Linked DNA regions of Homo sapiens: all the other regions are linked to region 2. The links are contacts of gene promoters, found by promoter capture Hi-C in blood cells and fetal thymus (Javierre and others, 2016). All regions are on one chromosome and are shown on one strand. The core of a region is centred on a gene start or on the middle of the fragment in contact, and the rest is flanking DNA. Distances in the headings are between cores, read along the strand shown. Region 1 overlaps ARHGEF10 (Rho guanine nucleotide exchange factor 10). Region 2 holds the start of MYOM2 (myomesin 2). Region 3 overlaps ARHGEF10 (Rho guanine nucleotide exchange factor 10).

What was found. The method cuts DNA at HindIII sites, captures the fragments that hold promoters and counts their contacts. A CHiCAGO score of 5 or more calls a contact.
Region 1: a fragment that was not itself captured here is called in contact with the fragment with the promoter of MYOM2 in region 2 in 1 of 17 cell types (neutrophils); the score reaches 7.3 in neutrophils.
Region 3: a fragment that was not itself captured here is called in contact with the fragment with the promoter of MYOM2 in region 2 in 14 of 17 cell types (neutrophils, monocytes, activated CD4 T cells and 11 more); the score reaches 14.3 in neutrophils.

What each region holds. Positions count from the first base shown.
Region 1 is chr8:1,908,040-1,912,919 of GRCh38, forward strand. ARHGEF10 (Rho guanine nucleotide exchange factor 10) reads left to right here. Exons shown (of 29, transcript NM_014629.4): 18 at 1,256-1,431. Among named protein-coding and RNA genes, the nearest start is that of KBTBD11-OT1, 61 kb to the right of the region's middle. RefSeq lists a silencer at 445-546 and an enhancer at 3,752-4,354. The HindIII fragment of the contact is 8,013 bases long and covers 1-4,880 here.
Region 2 is chr8:2,042,435-2,047,410 of GRCh38, forward strand. It overlaps MYOM2 (myomesin 2), which reads left to right and starts at 2,612. Exons shown (of 37, transcript NM_003970.4): 1 at 2,612-2,734. The HindIII fragment of the contact is 1,181 bases long and covers 2,506-3,686 here.
Region 3 is chr8:1,888,725-1,893,647 of GRCh38, forward strand. It overlaps ARHGEF10 (Rho guanine nucleotide exchange factor 10), which reads left to right. Exons shown (of 29, transcript NM_014629.4): 12 at 4,845-4,922. Among named protein-coding and RNA genes, the nearest start is that of ARHGEF10, 67 kb to the left of the region's middle. The HindIII fragment of the contact is 2,954 bases long and covers 2,197-4,923 here.

The DNA.
Region 1 (4,880 bases), core at 590-3,089, 140 kb before region 2:
CTCTTACTGTGTCTGAATTGTTCTTCCTCCTTTCCCTTCCTGTATGGACTGGATGTCCTCATGGAGGGCAGAGTGCTCTGGTGTAAGAAGGAACTGGAGAGCTTGGGTGCAGACGGGCTCCCAGCCAGTCAGGTGCTCAGTCCAATGCATAGCACCCGGCATTTTGGTTATTTCTACCCACACTTTGATTTTTTTTTTTTTTTTTTTTTGAGAAAGAGTCTCGCTCTGTCACCCAGGCTGGAGTGCTGTGGCTCGATCTCAGCTCGCTGCAAGCTCTGCCTCCCGGGTTCACGCCATTCTCCTGCCTCAGCCTCCCTAGTAGCTGGGACTACAGGCACCCACCACCACACCCAGCTAATTTTTTAAATATTTTTAGTAGAGATGGGGTGTCACTGTGTTAGCCAGGATGGTCTCAATCTCCTGACCTTGTGATCTGCCTGCCTTGGCCTCCCAAAGTGCTGGGATTACAGGCGTGAGCCACCGCGCCCGGCCCACACTTTGATTTTTAACGGCAATATCTTGAAGAAAAGCAAAACGTGATGATCACTAAGTGAGAATAATGGTTGATTCTGGAGGGTGGGATTTCCTGGGGCTGCGGGGATGCTGGCGATGTCACAGCCTTGGCCTTGGAGTCCGCTACACAGATGTTGGCGCAGGTCGTTTCCACTAGACTGTACATATGTGTTTTGTGTTTCTTCACGTATATGTTCTATTTATGATAAAAGAAGAAAATAATCTGTATAAGTCATAGGGTTTTTTTTCGGTTCAATTTCCGTATACTTGATAAATATTTTAGTCATGGAGTGTAATGGTATGATTTGATTCTATTAAAGTGGTTACAGTGTAGCCATAAAAGAATAAAGCAGCAATTTGAGAGTTAACTCTTATGAAACCGCCAGAGAATATCTCTATCCACATAGGAGACTTTTCCTGGTAATCGAGCACCTTTGCTCAGAGTCATCAGCAAGCACCGAGCTGCTTCCTGTTAAGCCTTTATGGAAAACCTCGGAGCTTCCGGGAGATCCGTCCCCTGTGCGGCTCTTCCCTGCACTCTCTCTCATCCAGTTCGAGGCCTCTTTATGGCAGCAAGTGGGGACTCAGTAAGAAAGTCAGAAGCACAATTACTATTGTGAGAAAGTCTGAAGAGTTACAATTCAGCAGTGGGAAGTTTCTCACTTGAACATCTGAGGGATGAACATTACCATAACGTGTTCATGTAATTATTCGTAAAACAAGGATCTTTTGGTCGTTTCAGCCCCTCTCATGACAGCCGTGTGATGAGCAGCCAGAGGTACTTGCTGAAGTGGAGCGTTCCACTGGGACATGTGGACGCCATCGAGTATGGCAGCAGCGCAGGCACGGGCGAGCACAGCAGGCACCTTGCCGTTCACCCGCCGGAGAGCCTGGCCGTGGTTGCTAACGCGAAACCAAGTAAGTGATGCTTTCTCTCACGTTCGTGCCGTGGGGCCAGGGTAACTCTCACGTTCATGCTAGCTGTGGGGCCAGCGTAAGCTCCACCATCAGCAGGTTCAGGGTTTAACATGGCAAGTCTGCAGAGGTGATCCAGTCTCTAGAATCTGTATGCTGTCTGACTAACATGGCCAAGTCGGCTGCTCATCACTGACTTGTCCCACGTGCAGCTGGGGCTCCTTCGGGTTCGGGCCGTGCACCTGGCCAGTCAGAAGTGGATTCCGTCTTCCCGGTCCAGTGAGCTCAGTTTTGCGTTTCCAGTTAACCAAATCAGGACTTGGCAGTGCTGGTCTCTTGAGTGTGTGGAGCTGGCGTGCAGGAAGTCATAGAGCTTGAGGCGGTGGTGGTTCCAGCTCGGCTCTTTGCTCACCTGCTCACACTGCTGGGCAGCGTTGTGATGTCTTTACTCAGTTTCCCCATGGAGGCAGTGCTTGTCCATGAACTTCCCAAGGTGAAAGGAGAGGAGTCAGAATGCTTTGGCAATGTCTTAGCATTGCACATGATTTATGATTATTATTACCTAACATTGTTCAGACTGCAGATTTTAATCTTAGTGTAAAAATCATTACCTTCTCTTCATTATTAAAAAAAAAATCCAAAGAACGACTGGCTAAGTTTTATTCACTTTTTGGGCTCTACCCCTGAATTGTAGAACAATTTAAAAAACACGATGCATGGGAACTTTCAGTTAACCTTTCATAGGTTAAATATGCATGAATTTTTCAGATTATTTTGTTTCTGACATGTTCAGAAGCAAGGAAACCACGTGAGAACGTTTAACCTTTTCTGATTGAATTTGCATATTCACCTGGATTTGCAGAACATGATGTAAGGAGTATTAGGTCTAATTCGCTTTGGGACCGCTTTTATTTTTCTCATTCCCCTGATGTTAATAGTCATTCTGTTTGGTAATCTGCCTAGTAGGCTAATTCGTCAAGCATATTATTACAATTTGTAATCTCTTAAATTTCTGACTCTTAAATCCTCGTCCTATTTAAAGTGGTATGCGTCTGTATCAAACCCTCTCCACAAATAACTGAAGTACCAAAACCCAGATTTCCCAAAAGAGCTGTTCTGGGGGGTGGTATGGAGAGCGAGAGGGAGGAGCCGAGGGAGAGGGGACATGGGGACAGAGAAATCATTTCTGACATGATTCATTAACATTTTATTCAAGAGCAAATTGGATGCCTTGTTAAAGATTTTTAAAAATCCTTTTAAATTATTTGGAAACATTGATTGGCAATCAAATTTATATTGTGGTTTTGTGAACAAAAACACCTTCATGTATTTTATAATGCTAGCAATCTTAGAATTTATTCATAATTAAGATGGCCTTATTGTATTTAAATAGCTAAAGGTGACTTTGATCCATAAAATAGTATGTATTCCATGCAATGTTATATTTTCTTATTCATCTTATTATTTATGATTTATGCTGAGCTAACTTAGATTGATTCAGTTAGCAATGTGAAAAAAGCATAAAGCAGGGTGATTCAACCCATTTTTAAAATACTATGTGGAGGAAATAACCTGGAGTGAGTTTATCATTGCATTTGCACCCTGGATTTAACTATGAGCTTCCTATCAGCCACAGCAAGAGGAGAAACACTGAGTATGGACAAGTTCTCATTGTCTATTAAAAAGAAATATGCCACATTGGAGAGTAAATGTTTTTCTTTATTCTGAATTCAAGGAGGTCTTTGGTGTTATATCTCCAGTTAAGGGGACTTTGAAACACACTTGAAAACGTATATGATTGTGTTTTGCATACCTGCATTGATTTTTTTTTTATCACGTCTCTATGGAAAAGCACCTAGTTAACCTCAGTGAAACCATTTTTCCATGGGACATCTTTTTGCCCAATGCCTTAAACAGAGAGCTTAAATGATAAACTTGTTTTGCCATCAATAGTGTTTTGTTCCTCTAGATTAAAAAAGAAACTTTTAAAACAAATTATTTAAAATGTGCTAATTCTGTATGTGTCTGAAGATAGAACTCAAGTCAGAATTCTCTGGGGCTTTTTTCCGGCGTCAGGTAAGAGCATGGTGCTGTCTTGCATTTACAGAGAAGGTGAAAGTGGGCACCGTGCTTGGTGCTGGGACTGGCAGGGCTTCTATCCCGACACGTCTGGATTCATCCAGGGTGGACCGACAGTCTCTTGTTAGCATTGATCTTGAGTGGGTCTATGTGGTATCACATCCATCATGTTGATCCCATGAGTGCCACGCTGCAGCCGGTGAATGACGTCCCTTCACTCTGCTCATCTCAGCTCACTCCTTACCGTTTATGCTGACAAAACCCAGGTACATCCATGAACCACATCTCCATGGGGCTGCCTGTAATACCTCCCTCAGAGTTTTCATCAAATGGCTTCAAATTCACTCTCAGTGTTTGTTTCTTCCGGTTCTCTTGGTTTGTCACTTCTAAATTATATCGAGAAGCTAAGTCAGAAATTCTCATTCTCAGTCGATAGTCATAGGACTTCTGCTGCTTGAATGACTGTTCTAAAATTCAGTGTTGGAAATGTTGGTGTGTTACTTGATATTGACAGAGTGTAGGCAGCACTGCCCAGCAACCTCTGCTTGCAGAGCGGGCAGCGTGGTAACCACCTGAGACCAGTGAGCAGCTGCAGCAGGGAGCTCCCTGTCCCTGCAAAAGCGCCGTGTCGATTGTGTGTTTGCCGTGTGGTGTTAGACTCAGCAGGAAGCTCGCTGTCCCCGCAGAAGCGCCATGTGGATTGTGCGTTTGCCGTGCGGTATTAGACTCAGCAGGAAGCTCGCCGTCCCTGCAAAGGCGCTGTGTGGATTGTGCATTTGCTGTGTGGTGTTAGACTCAGTAGGAAGCTCGCCGTCCCTGCAAAAGTGCTGTGTGGAATGTGCATTTGCTGTGTGGTGTTAGACTCAGTAGGGAGCTCACCGTCCCTGCAAAAGTGCTGTGTGGATCGTGTGGGTTGAGTGTTTGCCGTGCAGTGTTAGACTCAGTAGGGAGCTCCCCATCCCTGCAAAAGCACCGTGTGGATTGTGGGTTTGCTGTCCGATGTTAGATTCAGCAGGGAGCTCCCTGTCCCTGCAAAAGCGCCATGTGGATCGCGGGTTTGCTCTGTGGTGTTCGACATCCGGAGTTATGATGTGGCACTTTCCTCTCTTGCAGAGGCTGCAGGCTGGTGACCATGGGTCCCCTGGTCCATGGATTGGTTTAAGCTCCCAAACTCCCTGATGCTGTTTTGAAAAATGTCGTGTCCCCTATGGATCCATGGATTGGTTTAAGCTCCCAAACTCCCTGATGCTATTTTGAAAAATGCTGTGTAGTTTTCTGGGGTGATTTTAAAGGTTTTGCCAGCCTCCCCGATTGGGACTGGTGGCGGGGAGGAGGAAGATCGAGCGTGAGCCGTCAGTTGCTCTGGCCTGGTG
Region 2 (4,976 bases), core at 1,362-3,861:
CGCTCCTTATGAGAATCTTATGCCTGATGATCCGAGGTGGAGCAGTTTCATCCCAAAACTATCCCCCTCTCCACCGTTCTTGGAAAAATTGTCTTCCACGAAACCGGTCCTTGTTGCCAAAACAGTTGGGGATTGTTGCTGTATAGAACATAACTTCACCCATGAATGGTCTGGCCTGGGGTTCCACAGGATTGAAGGCACGTGGTTTTAGAATGTCACTCTTTGCATTTCGATCTTCTTTTCTATGTTGTGGGAAATCCTCAGTGAGGCCAACTGTTTTCCATTCACAGGCTGCCAATTTGAGCTGTGGAAATGAGATTGCTGGACTCTTCCTTTGTCTTAGTCAGGATTCTCTTGATGGCCGATGATAGAAAGTCAGCCCAAGGAACTCCGGCAAGAAGGAGCCTGTCTGCCCCAGAGCTGGTGTGTCTGGTGGAGAATGCGGGGCCCATGCCTGGTCCCACCGCCTCCCTCCGTCTTTTGTCCCTTCTTGGCTCCAGGCTTCCTGCAGGTGCACCTCACCCAGGGAGTTTTGGAAGCTACATCCCGGGTGGGCAGGGGCAGGCATGGCTCAGGGAGATGGGGGTCTACGAGGAGGGTGGGGAGGGGTCTCCTGTCCCCAGCAGAAGGCGAAGCTCTGTCCCCATCAGGAGCCTATCTGTGTCCCGGGTCACACTCTGCTCTCTGGGTGGTGTGGCTGAAAGATCCAGGCTTTCTTAGACGCAGCACTGGATTTCTATATCACAGAAGGAGGGCACAGCCACCGTGAAATGTCAGAAAAGGAGGAGGAGTGTGCTGGCCCTTCCTTCTCTCAGGAGAGGCCCCTCCCCGGGATGAGATTGTCCCCTCCTGAGATGCTAGGACTGGGACCCAGGCGACTGAGATGCCAGGACTGGGACTCAGAGGACTGAGATGCCACCTGAGGGGACGAGGCACCATCACTGCCCCTCCAGTGTCGGCCACACTCAGAGGCAGGGGGGCAGAAGGGCTGAAGGGAAGTCCCCCAGGTCCCTGAGAAATGGATTCGCTAGAGAAGGAGATGCTGATAAACCGGAAGTAAACATTGCTTGCTCTGGTCTTGCTGTTTGCAACCCCCCCAAAATATGTGGGTTAAAACCCTAACCCCCAAAACGATGGTGTGAGGAGGTGGGGCCTTAGGGAAGTGACAAGGTCATGGAGGTGGAACCTCCCGAGTGGGATCAGTATCCTCATACAGAGGCCCCAAGAGCGGCCTGGCCCCTTGACTTGGTGAGGACTCAGGGACCGCGCCGTCCCAGAACCAGAAGGCTCTCCCCAGGCAGTGTCTGCTGGTACCTGGATCTTGGACTTCCAGTCCCCAGAACTGTGGGAAAGAAGCTCCTGTGTTTTATAAGCTACACGGTCTATGGTGTTTTGCTAAAGCAGCCTGAATAGACTAAGAAATCACTCAACAAACACTAATTAAATTAAATGCTAGGCCATCAGAATACGAAGGGGAAGAAGACAGAAACACTCGCCTCCTGATCCAGCATCCAGAACGCTCTGGGGCCCAGCAAGAGGCTGTGCTCGCGTCTTTCTCGTATCTGATCTTCGCCTCCATCCACCTGCTCGCTGGTCCTTGGCTGTGCCTCTGATACCCCAGTGTGAGAACGTGGAGTTTCTTAAGGCAATTCTCTTATCATATTTTCTCTACTTGTCACAACAAACTTACAGGAAAGTTGTTATTCCATGCGTTTTAGAGCTGGGGAGCATAGCCCCCGTGGGCTGAGCAGCTGGCCGAAGTCCTCAGCCCCTGTGGTGAGGTGCAGCTGGAGTGTGATTCTCCGGGTCCTCAGATGGGGGCATCCCCTTGAGGCCCCGCCTCTTGGCCAGGCTGCAGCCCAGGACCGTGCCAGGTGTGTGTTATCTATATTTGGACACACGCTGTGCGAAACGACGGGCACCCTGCAATTATCCGTGTGGTGTAGACGCAGTGTACGTCTGTGGTAATGGCTATAAATAAGCCCCGACTTGCCGACTAGGCACCGCTCCTCTTTTGGGTAGGCAGTTCTTGCTAAAATAGCCCTAAGATACAATCGAGTGAAGACCTGAGTCGTTCTTGAAATAAAAAAAAAAAAACGAACAAACACACGAACATGCACACACACGCTCACAAACCCAGGGGCTTGTGCACCTCCCTCCCTCCACAGCCGACCTCAACTCGGGTGTCCAGGCCTGCGAATGGCACAAATGCTCACTGAAATCCATGTCATTATTAAAGACTCATTCAGGAGTTGCAATTTGTGAGCCAGGGAACCTGTAGCTCGAAAGGATTGAAGATATGTCTGAGAATTCACACGTAAGGATTAGAACTCATGGAGGAGAGTTGCGGGGAGGGAGCGTGGGAAGTCAGTGCCCTGCCCTCTCTTTCTGGGTCGGGGGCTGAAGTGTCACACCCGGTTTCCTGGGAAAAGTGCAGTTTGGGACTCAGAAAGGACACGTTCCAGTTTTGAATCGTGATTTCCCCCGCCCTCAGTTTGAACAAGAAGCTTTTCCTCCTGAGGTCAGGCTGGTGATTTACGATGTGGGTATTGATGTGGGGAGAGGCAGGCCCAGGCGTCTATATATAGTAGCTCCTCAGACCTTAAACGGGAGGGAGGCACAGGCGCTTGCTTTGCAGGAGTCAGCTCTGCCTTCCTCGGCTGGAGTGTGGGTGGCTTGGTGAGCCGGTGGTCAGGAATTCTCTCTCCTCCTTGCAATTTTCCTTTCTGTCTGGGTAAGTGTCTTTCTCTTCTTGCCTTTTCTAATTTGTGGCTTTAAGGGGAGGACCGGTAACTTCTGCACTCACATTTTCTAAGTACCTCTACTTCAGGGTCAAGAAGAGAGAGCCAGTGCACCCCGTCGCAGGCACCCTTTACTGTGGAAAACAGAGCAATTAGTTCTGGGATCTGTATTTCTTTGACGAGGTTTTATGCTCAACTAACATTTTATTTCCCACAGCCGTGGTCTTTGCTAAGTGCCGTTTAGCACCCTGCGGCGTGTGCTTTGGGTTTTAGCCCTGGTCTCATCGTGGCCCCAGGGGGCCCCCCAGTCAGTGGACTGATGTCTGCAAGTTTCATGAGATTCTCAGAAACGAAAGCCTCCCCCGAGGAGAGGGCTGACTTATAAAGGTGTGAAATAATAAAACTGGATATTTTCTTAAGGGAAAAAAGAGTCGAGGGTCATTCAGCTTAGACCTAGCCTATATTATCCACGGTATGGGAAAGAGAACAATCCTTGTCAGGACTTGCAAGTTTTTGCCCAAAAATGACAGCGTTCTTACGGCTGTTTTCTTCTTTGTGCTGTTGGGTGTGTTGTGACCCTTCAGACTTCTTCAGCTCCACTCCGCTGATAGAGGCTGTGCCTTCTCAGGGCGTGCTCTTGAAATGCAACCTGCTGGAGAAAGACAGTGGGGCTGGGTGGTTGCACGTGGAAGGCACCGGAGGCAAACGGAAGGAAGGGGTTTGCCATCACTGGGAACACCTGGCCTTTTCTAATTCTCCATTTCACATTCCTTTCTTACTAAGTAGAAGTAAAACAGGACTCAAAGAAAGCGTGGAACAAAGATAATTTAAGGCGTTATTTAATAAACCAAGTCCCAAGCTAAAACTTGTCTTGGGAGCCAAGGGCTTAGCCACTTGTGGCACAGGCCAACGCTGCGTGTCTGGGAGTCCCTTTCCCCTCTAGAAAGCTTTAATTTGGTGTATTTATTGACTTTGACATTTTTAACTGTACAAACAATTTCCTTCATTAAGTGGAAGTCAATGTTTTGTACTTCAAACATTTTTGCAAATTAAAACCCATCCTGGTGACATGAGGAATGGGCTCCACACGTTGTTTGCAGGAAGGAATTAGGATGGGGATATCAGACACGTGGTCCCCTGCACTGGAGGAGAGGCTCGCGTTTCATCCTGGTGTCATGATTCCTAAACGTGTCAGGAGCATTCCGGGAGTGGCCGGGGAGCTGGGCTGTGGTGGAAAGTGGGCTGGACGCTGTCAGGAGAGTCAGCTGGCGCCTGGGTTCGGCCGTGGCCCTACCGGTGACCCGGGCAAGTCATATTTCCCTGGGGACGGTCTGTGCTAACAGTACAGCGTGGCGCCAGGATTATCTACACACAGGCTGTCCAAGCTGGGGGACTGTTAGCTGCCACCTCACTCAGCCCCCTGTTTTACAGCAGAGCAGGTGGAGGCCCCTGAGCTGAAGGTCAGCAGGTCCCCACTGGAGTCTCAGCCTCCCAATGCGCCTGAGCCCCAGGGACTCACATCAAAAACTACCCTGCGAGGAAAAGCTGCTTTCTTTCTCTCTCTCTTTCTTTTTTCTTTTTTTTTTTTTTGGTTGGTGTGTGTAGGGGGTATTTAACACATGTCTGAGATAGTTCCTTAAAAAGGAAAACAGCTTTCTATGTAGACAGTAGAGGGACATTGGGGAGCTGATCGGCCCAGGTCCTGTCATTTTCTTTATAGTGTCATAAATAGTACAGGTTGATCATTCCAAATCTGAAGATCAGAAATCCAGAATGCTCTAAATTCTGAAACTTTGTGAGCGCTGGTATGACTCTCAAAGGAAATGCTTACATGAGCATCTCAAGTATCCAATTTCTGGATTTGAGTTGCTCAACCAGTAAGTATAAATGCAAGTATTCCACAGTCTGAAAAACAAATCGGGAATTGGAAACTCTTCTGGTCCAAGCATTTTGGATAAGGGATGCTCCACCTGTAGGGTGCATTTGGCAAGTCCTCTCCAGGGTTCCCTCCACTCAGAAGGGCCCTGTGCTGCCAGGGCTGCAGGCACCCAGCACGTGCTGAGTCAGTGGGGATTTGCTTGCAAAGACGTCATCACACCCGGCCAGGAGGTGGTGGCCCAGGCTGGGTGAGGGACACTGGGGAAGTTCTAACATAGGAAGTCCCCCAAGGAGTGAAGAGATTGCGGAGGGGACACACATTCAGGGTGGGTGAGGCTGGACGTGCAGTCCTGCTGG
Region 3 (4,923 bases), core at 2,424-4,923, 150 kb before region 2:
GGGTGAGGTTTGTGAGGAGACACTGAATAGGGTGAGGTTTGTGAGGAGACACTGAGTGGGGTGAGTATTGTGAGGAGACACTGAGTGGGGTGAGAGTTATGAGGAGACACTGAATAGGGTGAGGTTTGTGAGGAGACACTGAGTGGGGTGAGAGTTATGAGGAGACACTGAGTTGGGTGAGGGTTGTGAGGAGACAGTGGGGTGAGGGGTCTGTGACGAGACACTGAGTGGGGTGAGGGGTCTGCGAGGAGACACTGAGGTGTGAGGGGTCTACAAGGAGTCACGGAGTGCAGTGAGAGTTGTGAGGAAACATGGAGTGGGGTGCGGGTCATGAGGAGACAGTGATTGGGGTGAGGGGTCCGTGAGGAGACACTGAGTGGGGTGTGAGGGGTCTGTGAGGAGACACTGTGAGTGGGGTGAGGGTTGTGAGGAGACGCTGAGTTGGGGGGTTGTGAGGAGAGCGTGGGGTGAGGTTTATTAGGAGACACTGAATGGGGTGAGGGTTGTGAGGAGACATTGAGTGGGATGAGAGGTGTGAGGAGACACTGAATGTGGTGAGGGTTTGTGAGGAGATACTGCATGGGGTGAGCTTTCTTAGGAGACACTGAGTGGGTAAGAGTTGTGAGGAGACACTGAGTGGGGTGAGGGGTATGTGAGGAGACAGTGATGTGAGGCATCTGTGAGGAGACACTGAGTGGGGTGAGGGGTCTGTGAGGAGACACTGAGTGGGGTGAGGGGTCTGTGAGGAGACACTGAGTGGGGTGAGGGGTCTGTGAGGAGACACTGAGTGGGGTGAGGGGTATTGAGGAGACACTGAGTAGGGTAAGGAGTCTGTGTGGAGACACTGAGTGGGGTGAGGGGTTTGTGAGGAGACACTGAGTGTGGGTGAGGGGTCTGTGAGGAGTCATGGAGTGTGGTGTGAGTTGTGAGAAAACTCGGAGTGGGGTGAGGGTCGTGAGGAAACAGTGGGGTGAAGGTTTGTGAGGAGACCCTGAGTGGAGTGAGGGTTGCGAGGAGACATTGAGTGGGATGAGGGTTGTGAGGAGACACTGAGTGGGGTGAGGGTTGTGAGCAGACACTTCATGGGAGGAGGGTTTGTGAGAAGACACTAGGTGGGGTGAGGTTTGTGAGGAGACACTGAGTGTGGTGAGGGTTTGTGAGGAGACACTGCATGGGGTGAACTTTGTTAGGAGGCAGTGAGTGGGGCGAGGGTTGTGAGGAGACACTGAGTGGGGGAGGGGTATGTGAGGAGACACTGAGTGATGTGAGCAATCTGTGAGGAGACACTGAGTGCGGTGAGGGGTATTGAGACACTGAGTGGGGTAAGGAGTCTGTGCGGAGACACCGAGTGTGGTGTGAGGGGTCTGTGAGGAGTCACCGAGTGCCGTGTGAGTTGTGAGAAAACGGAGTGGGGTGAGGGTTTGTGAGGAGACACTGAGTGGGGTGAGGGTTTGTGAGGAGACACTGAATAGGGTGAGGGTTGTGAAGAGACACTGAGTGGGGTGAGGGTTTGTGAGGAGGCACTGAGGGTTGTGGATTGTGAGGAGACATTGAGTGGGGTGAGGGTTCTGAGGAGACACTGATGGGGTGAGGGTTGTGAGCAGATACTGAGTGGGGTGAGAGTTGTGAGGATACACTGAGTTGGGTGAGGAGTCTGTGAGGAGACACTGAATTGGGTGAGGGTTGTGAGAAGACACTGAATGGGTTGAGGTTGTGAGGAGACAGTGAGTGGGGTGAGTGTTGTGAGGAGACACTGAGTGGGGTGAGGGTTGTGAGGAGATTCTGAGTGGGGCGAGACGGGTCTCTGAGGAGACACTGAGTGGGGTGAGAGTTTTGAGGAGTCACTGAGTGTGTAAGGGTCTGTGAGGAGACACTGAGTTTGGCGAAGGTTATGAAGAGACACTGAGTGCAGTGAGGGTTGTGAGGAGACACTAAGTGGGGTGTGAGGGGTCTGTGAGGAGACACTGAGTGGGTCACGGGGTCCGTGGGGTGTCACTGGGTAAGAGTCGAGGTTCTGTGAAGAGAGAGTGAGTAGTGATTGGTAGGGGTGTGTGCACATATCAGAGGAAAGAGGTTTGACCTTTTTGTTGTATGGCACTTTTCCAAGGGCCTGTCTGTTGGGTACTGATTTTGGTGGATTTGCTCAGCGAATTGGCAGTGACTGTTCATTGTTTTATGGTTTCTGTAAAGGGTTTAAGCTTCCCAAATTAGTCTCACAGACCTGGATGAAATTCTGTTTTTTGCTCTGATTATCTCAGTTACTTTTGTCTAGTAGTTAATTTCTGAAGTTCAGTTTTCCTTTTCTTTGAAGGGTGGATTTTAATGTCTATTTCCATCTTGCTTATCCCACCGTAATGGTTCAGTGAAGTCCTGTATAGCAAGGTCTCTGTGTTGTGTTAGCACAGTGCCGTCACTTTCAATGAGATGATAGCTGGGATTACGATTAGAAACTTAGCAGTATTTAGGATTTCTGCATTCTTTCATGCAGCTTTCTTTATTGTAGTCATGATTCACATCGATTTTGTTTTCCTCCTGCCAAATGTGTTGTCCATGAGAGTTTTCTCTTGAGTGGTTAAATGGGGGGTATTGATGCTCTTTAATTCTTGTTCTCCTCTAGAATTGAATTAAGGGAAACATAACTCTAAAATGCTGTATATTAAACATTCTTTGCATGCCTAATTTGGGGGTGGAAAAAGGCAAATGTTCTTTTTGAAATAAAGAAGGGTCGTTCTTTACTTGGAAAGTACCCTTGATGCTGGAGGACAGAGGATCCTGTCCCGTCCCCATTCCCGGTGAGGACATGAGGAAGGTCAGGCTGGGCCAGGCCCAGGCACCATCCGCAGCTCTCCCAGCTCAGGCCTAGGAGCCTCTCTGATTGTCCTCCAGCCCTGGCTTTGTCCAGTTGCCCCATGACCTTCATGCCAGGGACCCTCCCTGTGGGGGCTGCATTCAGGATGGATTTCTCCTCTATGACTTTAGGTCAGGCTTCTCAGGAAGAGAGTGACACTCTTCCTGAGCACTGGAGGCTCCCTGTCCCACCCCTTAGTGGGCATATAATTTGACGTGTCAGATTGAGCTGCCAGAAAGACTGACATCACGTGCAGTAGCCATGAAACCCAGAATATTGGTTTTGTTTTTGTATTTTAATATTATACCTATTCCAGATCTTTTGACCTGATACTATATTAGTATCATCTCAGGACTTTAAAAAATATACATACATAATATATATACACATATAAATAATACATATACATAATATAGGTACACATATCAATAATATATATAGTATAATATATAACATATTATATATATTACATGTATATATACACAAATACATTTTTATGTTTGACCCCCACAACTGTGACTCAGGAGCCTTGGGAGAGTGTTTGGGAATCTGAATTTCAGAAGAAAGACTGGCCTGGGTTTGATGATGGGAGGGGTTGCTTGGCCTTTGGGTTCTAAGCTCTCGTTTGAAAGGGAAGCCTCTGTGCTCTGACGTTTCCTGTGAATCAGTCAGTAGCAGCAGCTGCAGCTTCCCAGCTTCTGGCTCTGTGTGTGTGTGTGTGTGTGTGTGTGTGTGTGTGTGTGTGTGTGTGTGTGTTTAATCCCAGCGATACCTGTATTTTTTAAATACATTAGTATTTTTTTAATACATCAGTTTCTTCTTTGGGTATTTTAGAAGGGTTGATTTTTGTCTTTTGCGAATAGAATAATCCTTTCTCTAAAAGGAGTAATCTCTCCATTGTTAATCAGGTTTTGTAAATCTTGGTTGCCCTGCAATCTTTTTAACCAGAGAAATTTCCGTTGTGAAAAATGCTCTTTGCCCGCTAGGTGGCAACGCAGTCCCTTCAAATAGCATAATCCAGGGCTGCAGGTAGCCTGATGCTACACTGGAGTACCCGTGTGTGTGCATGTGTGTGTGTGGTGTGCTTCCGTGCGCGCACGTGTGTGTTATCTTGCACATATATGGGGTGGGTGTGTACAGGAGTGTGTGTGGTGTGGTGTGCCCGGGCGTGTGTTCATATGCGGGAGTGCGCATGCTGGTTTAGGAGAAACTCTATTGCCCTGTTTTGCTCTGTTTTCCATGAATTGGCAAATTGGAAGTACAATGATCACTAGCTGGACTGTGTTTAGAATGAGGGAAATGCCGGGCGTCCTCATAGGCCTTTCACGGGATCTTACAGCCACAAGTCTATTGTATGTGCTTCAGTGATGAAAAGCAAGATGGAAAATAACGTCAGGTTTTGATTGCAAACATGTCAGATTGTAGAGATTTTTTTTTTGCACCTCTAAGTGACATGAATAATTTACTGTCCACATTCTTGGCCTCATAGGTAGATCTTTGGATGGTTGAAAGATCTTTGCAAAAAAAAAAAAAAAAAAAAGATTCCTCCACATTCCACAAACTTTGTTTTCTTAGAACTTTGGAATAAATATTTTAGATAAGTGTTGCTAATAACATTCATTGATCAAGACTGGAACTATTTTTTATCCTGAATTCATAGGAAGTATCATCTACCTGAATGTTGGATACATAAAATACAATCTGTTAATTCAGTATATTATCGTTGCATAAATGAAGGAATTTCTTTTCAGTGCTGTAATTTTTTTTGTCCCAGCTGTAGTTATAGTTCATAGTTTGAGGTTTAAGACATTATATAATTGTATTAATGGGGCGAAGTATGTTTTGTACCTGTAATGTTATTTAATTAGGCTACCCTTGTGCACTGTTTTCTAAAAATAGAAAAGTTACTTATCAGCAAGCCTCAGCATAGAAGTAAAATGTATCTGTGTGTATTATAAAGCAGTTTTCTATCATTGTACTTCCAAATTTCCAACAGGTTGTAAGAAGATATATACTGGGTTCAGTTGTCGACAGTGAAAAGAACTACGTAGATGCTCTTAAGAGGATTTTGGAGG